3 separate regions of the Homo sapiens genome follow, and all the other regions are linked to region 2. The links are contacts of gene promoters, found by promoter capture Hi-C in blood cells and fetal thymus (Javierre and others, 2016). All regions are on one chromosome and are shown on one strand. Each heading gives the region's core, a stretch centred on a gene start or on the middle of the fragment in contact. The rest is flanking DNA. Distances are from core to core; before and after follow the strand shown.

Region 1 (2,865 bases), core at 102-2,601, 250 kb after region 2:
CACTTGAACCTGGGAGGCAGAGTTTGCAGTGAGCTAGATCATGTCACTGCACTCTAGCCTAGGGGACAGAGCAAGACCCTGTCTCAAAAAAAAAAAAAGTATTCATTGATAAGGACAACTGTGAATTCCTTTCAATAGATGGGTTTACTTCATTTGTTTTCATCCCTGATGGCAACACCCCCATCCAACAGGAAAAAAGAAACCAACTCATCATTGGCATCCCTCTTCTCTGCTTTAGTTTTTCCTTAGGATGCACCGCCCTCTAAAGTATTGTTTAATTTACTTATTTATTATGTTAATTTATTGTCTGTATCCCTCATTAAAAGCAAAGTTCCAGATACTTTTCAAAAGAAGACGTACGTGTGGCCAACAAGCATATGAAAAAAAGCTCAACATCACTGATCATTAGAGAGAAACGCAAATCAAAACCACAACGAGGTACCATCTCACACCAGTCAGAATGGCTGTTATTGAAAAGTCAAAAAACAACAGGTGCTGGTGAGGTTGTGGAGAAAGGGGAACACTTATACCCTGTTGGTGGGAATGTAAATGAGTTCAGTCATTATGGAAAGCCGCATGGCAATTCCTCGAAGAGCTAAAAACAGAACTACCATTCAACCTAGCAATCCCGTTACTGGGTATATATCCAAAGGAATATACATTGTTCTACCGTAAAGACACATACACGCATATGTCCATTGCAGCACTATTCACAATAGCAAAGACATGGAATCAACCACAGTGCTCATCAGTGGTAGACTGGATAAAGAACATGTGTTACATATACACTATGGAATACTATGCAGCCATAAAAAAGAATGAGATCATGTTCCTTGCAGAAACATGGGTGGAGCTGGAGGCCATTATCCTTAGCAAACTAACTCAGGAACAGAAAAGCAAACGCTGCACATTTTCACTTATAAGTGGGAGCTAAATGAGGGCACATGGACACAAAGAGGGGGACAACAGACACTGCAGCCTACTTGAAGGTGGTGGGTGGAAGGAGAGAGTGGCTTAGAAAAAGTAACTATTGGGTACTAGGTTTAGTTCCATGGGCTACAACAGCGCTCAGCATACAGTGCTCAGGAAATACTCATGGAACCCCTCAGTTAATCATCCAGGGTGCCTGGCCTGTGCTCCAGGGACAGTCCGGGAACTGACTGTTCTGGGCCTCGTTGAGTGTGGAAATTGAGAGCGAGCGGGTAGAAACGCTGACAGCCACTTCACTTTGCCATGTTGTCTAAGTGCTTCATCATTTTTCTGGTAGTTCATCTTTATCGTGGTTTACAAAAGTGTGGGTCCCACGATGGACTGGAAATTAAAACAAAATAAAAATGTGTCCTTACCAGATAGTTAGAGAAGTACCAGGCCAGCAAACAAAAAAAAAGTCGAAAGAACTGGGACACAGGAAAACTACGCTTCTAAGATTTCCAAGCCAAGAACATTGGAGAGTGCAGATGCTGTGTGTGGCCAGGCAGCGTTCAGCCACAAAGAAACCCCAGGCAGAAGGGCCAGGGGGGATGGGGGCCAAGGCCTTCTTGGAATCTGCCCCATCCTCATGCCCCTGCACGCACTTGCCTGGGGGAATGCGGACAGTCACCAAACTGTGTCCCCGGGAAGGGTGCCTGCCACACCACCCCCTGCCCTTTGTGAACGGGGCATCTCTCTACCACTGGCCAAAGCTGCTGGCTTCAGATGGAATTTTTTTCTTCTATGGGGAAACCTCAGCCAGCAGCTTCAGCTCGTGCCCAGGAGTTCCAGGCTGCTCTTCCTGATGGCCAGGCCCATGAATTCTGATGTGTCTAGCCAGCTCCTACAGCCACAGAAGCCAGTTTCCTGCAATAAATCCACATATATATATCCTATGTCTCCTGCTGGTTCTGTTTCTCTGGTTAAATCTTGACAGATACAGATTGTGTTAGTAACGTGGGCCAATTTTTGACATGGTCAGACTACCAGAAACCCATCGAAATCTCAAACTTCTGTTTATCCAAATACAGCTGCCAACAGAACTCTCACAGAGTGGCATAAGAAGCTCCATTTCCTATTTTCTGAATCCTTGGCGGTTGAGCATAGTCCTCTGTGTGTACCCAGAACATGTCTTCTGCTGGTCCTCGGCAGCCGACAGCCAAAGATAGGTCCAGAGCCTGGCGAAGTTGATGCCAGTAACAGCATCCGGGCCTGCGTGTGGGCTGGGGACCCTGCAAAGGACCAGAACCTACGTCTCGGCATCTTTGTGAAAAGGGATGCCAAGACACAAGAAAAAAGGAAAGAGCAACACGGCAAAACCCATCTCTATTAAAAATACAAAAAATTAGCCAGGCATGGTGGCGGGCACCTATAGTCCCAGCTACTTGGGAAGTTGAGGCAGGGGAACCCCTTGAACCTGGGAGGTGGAGGCTGCAGTGAGCCAAGATCGCACCATTGCACCCCAGCCTGGGCCACAGAGCGAGACTCAGGTCTGAAAAAAAAAGGAAAGGGAATTCATGGCCTTTCTCTTCCTCTTAAGACAAATGCCCTTTTCTTCACATTAACAATGAAGAGACCAACGTGGCAAGCTGGAGAGAAGACGCAACACATCCCAGCACCAGCCGGGCCATGCAGGAAAGCCTGGGACAGGACCACGGCCATCAACTCAGCTCTCAAACCTGCCTACTACAGGCTAGCTCAGTGTGCCCGGAAAGGGACCTCATCACTCTGTGCCTCGGTGTCCTTGTCTGTGAAATAAGTTGGCCGGATTATCTCCAAGCTCCTCCTCCGGTATCCTGTGGTTGAATCCATGAGACACCAAACTCTGCAGCACGCAACAGCCTTCCAGCGTGGACACCTGTGCTGTCATCATGGGAGCCTTACTCCAGTTGTGTT
Region 2 (2,832 bases), core at 333-2,832:
GGTGGCCGTTGACGGTCTTCCGACAGAGATGCTGAAGAGTGGCCACGTTGGAGGAGAGGGGCCGGCTCAACACCAGGGGGATCTTCTCGCCCCCGGAGTAGATGTAATAGGCTCTTCTGGGGGGACTCCCAGGGAGTGGCTGGGCAGACGGCTGCTCGGGCACCTCGGAGGAGGGTTCAGTAGGTGGCGAGGGGAAGGAGGGGGCTCCAGGGGGCGGCATGTAGTGGTGCACCAGCTTGAGCACGCAGTCGAAGCGGGGCACGGGCTGCGTGCTCCGGGGATCGCTCTGCAGAGAGAAGCTGCCCCCCTCACACTGGATGCGCAGGTTCTTGGTCCCAGACTGGGTCTTGACGCTGAGCGTGAAGAAGTGGCGCTGGTCCGAGCTGTCGCGGATCAGAAAGGTGCCGGCGGGCTCGGCACTGAGCAGCAGGTTCGCCTCGCCGCCGGTCACTGCGCTCCAGTAGAAGCCGCTCTCCTGCAGCTTGCGCACTGCGTTCACCACCAGCTGGTACTCGCTCTTGGAGCTGAAGGTCTTGAGGCGCAGGCTGGTGTCCAGGGGGCGGCTCATCCCGGCGGCGGGAAACTTGCTGTGGGTGACCATGGCGCACGGAGCCAGCGTGGATCTGCGCGGCGGCGGCTGCAGCTGCTTCGCGGCCTCCGCACAGCGGCCGCTACCGCATCCCGGGGGGCTGCGGAGAGGAAGGCGCGAGCGCGTTGAGTGCCCGGAACCCTCCAGCGCGCCCGGCCCGCCCCGGCTCCCCTGCCTTCGCCGAGCGACTGGGGCACCCACTGCCCCGGGGGCCCTCTCCTGGGCCCGCGCTCCGATCCAGGCGCCTCACGGAGCCCGCACGGCTCCCGCCCCTGCCGGCAGGGTGGCCCCGGGCAGCCCCTTCCCAGGCGCGCACTGCAAGGGCGCAGCGTGGGAAACTCGCGCGCGGAAGTTAGGTCTCCAGGAGTGTGGCCGGGTGGGGAGCAGGAGAAGGGCCCCCGGGACTGCCTGGGCGCCGCTCAGTCCAGTAGCCCCGGGCGGTGTGGACGGAGGGAGAAACCCGAGGCACGGGGGTAGGGAGGGGACAGGAGAAGCCCGAAGGCCCCAGCCGGAGTATTCCGGGAACCTGGGATCTCCGGCTTCCATCCGCTCTGCCCCTACCTCGTCACCTCCCTGCCGGGAATGACCCGGGAAGGGGAGGGGAAACCGGGAAAAGCTCCCGGGACTGAGCGAGACCCCTCCCCACGCCGCGCTCCTCCTTCCTACCTGGTCCCGAATCGAAGTCTCCGTCCTTGGGGCTGAGCCCCCTCGGGTCCCCAAGGCGACGCGGCGGCGAGACGGCCAGCGGTGGCCCGCGCTGCGCCCAGATGTTGGCGGCCGTGAAGTCCACAAAGGAGCCTTCGCGCGCGCGTCCCTCGAGCTTCCCCTGGGCGCCCGCCCTGCCCCCTGCGCACCCCCGGACCAACCGGGAGGGGACCAGGAGAGGGACCGCGGCAAGGGGCCGCGGCGGGAGCTGGGCCGGGCGGGCGGCTGGCGGCTGGCTGCGTGCGGGGCCGAAGCGGCAGCAGCGGAGCAGGGAGTCCAAGTCGGAGCCGCCGCGGAGGCCGCGCTCGCGGGTATATAGGCGGCCGCCGCGCCCCGCCCCCCGATTCCTGGAACTGCGCGGCCGGCCTTCTTGTAATGTTTAGTCACTACTCGCAGCAGAGAAAGGCTGAGCGCGGAGGGTGAGGGAGGGGCCGCGGGCGCCGAGGGCGGGCCGCGAGCAGGGGCAGGGACCGGGAGGGACGCGCGCGGAGACAAAGCGCGACGAGAGGCGGCCGAGGCGGCCGGTGGGCGCGGCGCCAGCCCCGGCGGCGCGTTCCTGGCAGCGGCCCCTCCCCGCCGCGCGCTCCGCCCCCAACTTCTCATTCACACTTTCCCCCCACCCCCCTCCCTTCTAAGAAGGCTGATTTCTGGCAGAGGCGGGGGCGCCGCTTCGGGAGAGCGGGCAGTTCTAGGAGGCCGACCTGGAGAGCCTCCCGGTTCCCCTTCCCCTTTTCCCGGACCCCGCGGGGACACCCCCTCGCCGCCACCCGGGCCTCCCCGAGGGCCCAACTGCGGGTCAGGCGGCCCGGGCCAGCCGAAAGGGAAGTGGGGCTACCCCACAGCCAGGCAGCGGGGCTGGGGTCAGACCCGGGAGCCGGAGGTTGGAGACGTGCGACAGTCACCTGCGGGCAGATTCCAGAGGGGAGACCCAGGGCTGCAGGGGACGCCCCTTCGTGGCAGCTACCCAGCCTCGGCCCACTGCCAGGTTCTTTGCCAACCCTGACGCGAGTGTGGAGCCCCCCTCCCCTCCCCTATGAAAACGCTTTCATGCACTGGGGTCTGCAAACCTGGTTGGTCCGGTGTGGGTTGGGCCAGGTGCTCTCGGCCGGGCTGGAGAGCTCGAGGTGGAACGATGGCCCCAACCTACGGCCCGCGTCCGCCAGAGGGCGCCCTGGGGTCTCCTAGGGGAGGGCAGTTTGGTGCTGCGCGGCCCAGGCCTTGGAATAGGCACGCCAGGGATCTGCGGGAATGGCTGTCTCCGGAGCTGGAAAGGTGGCCGAGAAGGGGGCATTCACACCCCAGGCTGGGGTCAGACCTGGGAATAAAATTCTAGCAGGAGAGAATTTCCGGAAAGCAGTTTTCCGGGGTTCAGGCTACTGCCAGATGGCCCACACCCCCTGGAATGTGACCCCCTGCCTCTCTTGGGGTGGGGGAGGACTTGATCACTGGCGGGGAGGGGGTAGAGGGGAGGAGAGGAAGTGATTGAGGTGAAAGATTGGTTTGCTGCTGGTCACGTTGGCACTGACGTAGATAGTTTG
Region 3 (2,869 bases), core at 99-2,598, 250 kb before region 2:
TCCCTGTGCCCACCCCCCACAGCCTACGGTTTTCGGTATCCCACGGGCTCCTCAAACTCAGCCCAGTCAGACCCAGGATCACCACCCCCCAGCCAGCTGCTGGCAGCCAGAAGCAGGGGGCCAGCCCCACCTCACCAAGCCCTGTTCGCCTCCAAGCACAGGTGCTGGTTACCTATGCCTGGGAGGCAACTGTCCCCACAACTCATTTGCAACTGATATGTCTCCCCTCCAAGTCCCTCTCTAAATTTGTCTCCTGCTCCAGTAGATGCTACAGCATCACCCAATGGTTGACGCATCGCTCTGGTCACAATCCGTGCCTGCTCGGCTCACTTGTGCAGGTGTAAGCCCCTCCTGGGCGCGAGTTCAGGCTGGTCAAAGGCAGCAAGCGAATCAAGCCCTGGCGCGGTCCAGCCCCTGCCATCTGGGGCTTGGCCAGCAGAGGGCGCCCCCACTCCAGCTGAGGTTCCCAGGACCCAGACCTGCGCCTGGAGGTGGCCCCAGGGCAGCGGGAAGCAGGCCCCGGGTGTGGTCACAGACACAGAGCCCCAAGGGACAAGCCCATTTGCAAAACCCCTTTAATCAGAATAAATAGAGTCCCAGGCAGGGCAGAGTTCATTGGGGATGCCCAAGCCGGATTCACCCACCCTTCCAGCTCCAGCCTAGGCGCAGCTGCGGCTTTCGAGAGGCGAAACTGTCTTCCTTGTCCTGGTGTCCCAGCAGGGTCACTGGGAGGCAACAGTGTGGTCTCAGGGTGCTGGGCGGGCCCGTGAGGCCCATCGCCGTCCCCCTAGGCATCCTGTTCATCTGTGAGCAGGGCAGGGGGTGCCGCAGCCTCCTCGGTTGTCCCAACCCTGCCAGAAAGAGACATCACTGAGGGGACCCCATAAACATCAACATCCCTGCAACCTGGCTGGGCGCAGCCAAGGCCCGGCGAGGGACAGGCCAGACGCCCCACAGCCTTTCTCCTGAGATGTATTTTAGGTCCCTGTCAAAATGGCCAGGCTCCGGAGGCCAGAGAAGGCTCTAGAGAGAGTGAAGGTGGGCGCCGGGGGGGAGATTTTTGTAGGTCAAAAGCGGTCAAGTGTCAGCAATGTCGTGGTGTAGCCCCAGTGGCAGCCCTACTGTCCAGCCCTGGCCCCTCTCCCCTCCAGGCTCAGAGTGTCCCCAATCCCTCCACGGACCCTCACCTGCTCCTCTCCTCCCTCTCCTTCCTCTCGTAGATGGAGTGAAGCTTGTTGATTAAGAAGATTTTGTCCTCACCCTCCTAGAAAGGCCAGAACACAAAGGGGAGGAGAAATCATCCATCAGCCCATCCAGAGCCATCCTGTTCCAAACTGCATTTGAGGGAAAACTCACGAGGTGTATTCAACATCGCAAGCAGCAAAAACATAAAAGAAAAGGTGAAAGGGCCACCAAACAAGGACAAGGAAAAACCAAGAGCCAGGAAGTGGGCGTATGTGTGGATCTAAGCTTCCTAGTGGCCAAAGTGAAAAGGGAAATGTAATCAGCAGCCCAGAGCCAGCCTGACTCAATTTAAAACCAGCCCTGCCACGTACTGGCTCTGCCTTGGGTTACTAACTCTGTGACCTCAGTGGCAGCATCTGTAAAGGGGGATAATAACACAAGGCACAGGGTTTACATTAGTTTCCTGCTGCTGTCGTAACGAACTGTCATCAACTTCGTGGCTTAAAACACCACCGGTTTCTCAACTTTCAGTTCTGGAAGTGAGAAGTCCAAAATGAGTCTCACTGGGCTCCAGTCAAGCATGATCAGGGCTACATTCCTCCCGGAGGCTTCGGGGGAGAATCCTCTTCCTCGCCTTTTCCAACTTCTAGAGGCCCCTGGCTCTCAGCCCTTTCCTCCACTTCAAAGCCAGCAGTGGCTGCTCAAGTCCTGCTCACGTGGCACCACTCTGACCCTGACACTCCGGCCTCTGTTTTTCACCTCTAAGGACCCTGAGATCACGCTGGGCCACCACGATAATCTAGGGCCATCTCCTATCCAAAGTCAGCTGACTGGCAACTTTAATTCTACCTGCAATCGTAATTCCCCAGCCACGCAACGTAACGTATTCACAGGCTCCATCCAGTCTTAGGACGGGGACATCTTTGGGGCCAGTACTGGACTGACCCAGGGCTCTTTCGACAATGAAATGTGACAAGCAGAGGGGGCACTTAGCAAAGGATCTGGTGCACCGAAACACTGATCATCAGTGCCTGGGTCAGACCGGGATTCCCCGCCCGGAGCTTCACACAGAGAACAGGAGTTCTGTCAAGAGCCACACGGATTGGCTCTGGGCACCTGGCAACCTGGCTCAGCCTAGGAGGACCACTTAGAATACCTTCAAGGAGAGACCATGGGCCCCTTAAGCAACAACCTAAGTAGCTTCTATCGAGTTGCTGATGAGTATGGAGGGGCTGTGCACTTGAGCCATGCCGACCTGCACGGGGAAAACTCAGACCGACAGCCCCAAAGACGGGTCAGAGCTCGGCCTTGGGTAGACACCACAGCCAGCATCCGCCTGGAGAAAGGTCCTTCCCATCCCAGAGCAACGGTGGGTAGAGCTGGGATTCTCCCAGCACCACTCTGCATTCCCCGCCCGGACCCACCTGGCCCTACCTGGCCCCTGGGGGCTCTGAAATGCCACCCAGTAGGGCAGGAGCCATTCCCCACTTCCAATATCTACAGCCAGACAACCACCGCAGCCGAGATGCCAGGCTTTCAGCTCTATGTGGTGAAACGGGAAAGGCAGGAGATGGGACAGTGTGTACTACAGTGTTTACAACCCAAGCAATGTGGGAGCCGTCCCATGAGTGCTTGGGACGAGCTGGGACGAGCTGCCTGGAGCCCTGGATCCTGGCACCAACTA

The links. The method cuts DNA at HindIII sites, captures the fragments that hold promoters and counts their contacts. A CHiCAGO score of 5 or more calls a contact.
Region 1: a fragment that was not itself captured here is called in contact with the fragment with the promoter of SOCS3 in region 2 in 1 of 17 cell types (monocytes); the score reaches 7.0 in monocytes.
Region 3: a contact is called between a fragment that was not itself captured here and the fragment with the promoter of SOCS3 in region 2, in 7 of 17 cell types (activated CD4 T cells, naive B cells, total B cells and 4 more). The highest score is 8.3, in activated CD4 T cells.

What each region holds. Positions count from the first base shown.
Region 1 is chr17:78,607,803-78,610,667 of GRCh38, forward strand. No RefSeq gene overlaps it. Among named protein-coding and RNA genes, the nearest start is that of SCAT1, 23 kb to the right of the region's middle. The HindIII fragment of the contact is 3,651 bases long and covers 1-2,865 here.
Region 2 is chr17:78,358,495-78,361,326 of GRCh38, forward strand. It overlaps SOCS3 (suppressor of cytokine signaling 3), which reads right to left and starts at 1,583. Exons shown (of 2, transcript NM_003955.5): 1 at 1,256-1,583; 2 at 1-689. The coding sequence starts at 601. SOCS3-DT (SOCS3 divergent transcript) reads left to right here and starts at 1,954. Exons shown (of 5, transcript NR_110847.1): 1 at 1,954-2,279. RefSeq lists silencers at 695-934, 1,345-1,624, 1,635-1,944, 2,005-2,204, 2,435-2,484 and an enhancer at 939-1,587. The HindIII fragment of the contact is 6,903 bases long and covers 1-2,832 here.
Region 3 is chr17:78,112,361-78,115,229 of GRCh38, forward strand. It overlaps TMC6 (transmembrane channel like 6), which reads right to left. Exons shown (of 20, transcript NM_001127198.5): 19 at 1,188-1,264; 20 at 1-851. The coding sequence ends at 788. Among named protein-coding and RNA genes, the nearest start is that of TMC6, 15 kb to the right of the region's middle. RefSeq lists an enhancer at 231-290. The HindIII fragment of the contact is 239 bases long and covers 1,230-1,468 here.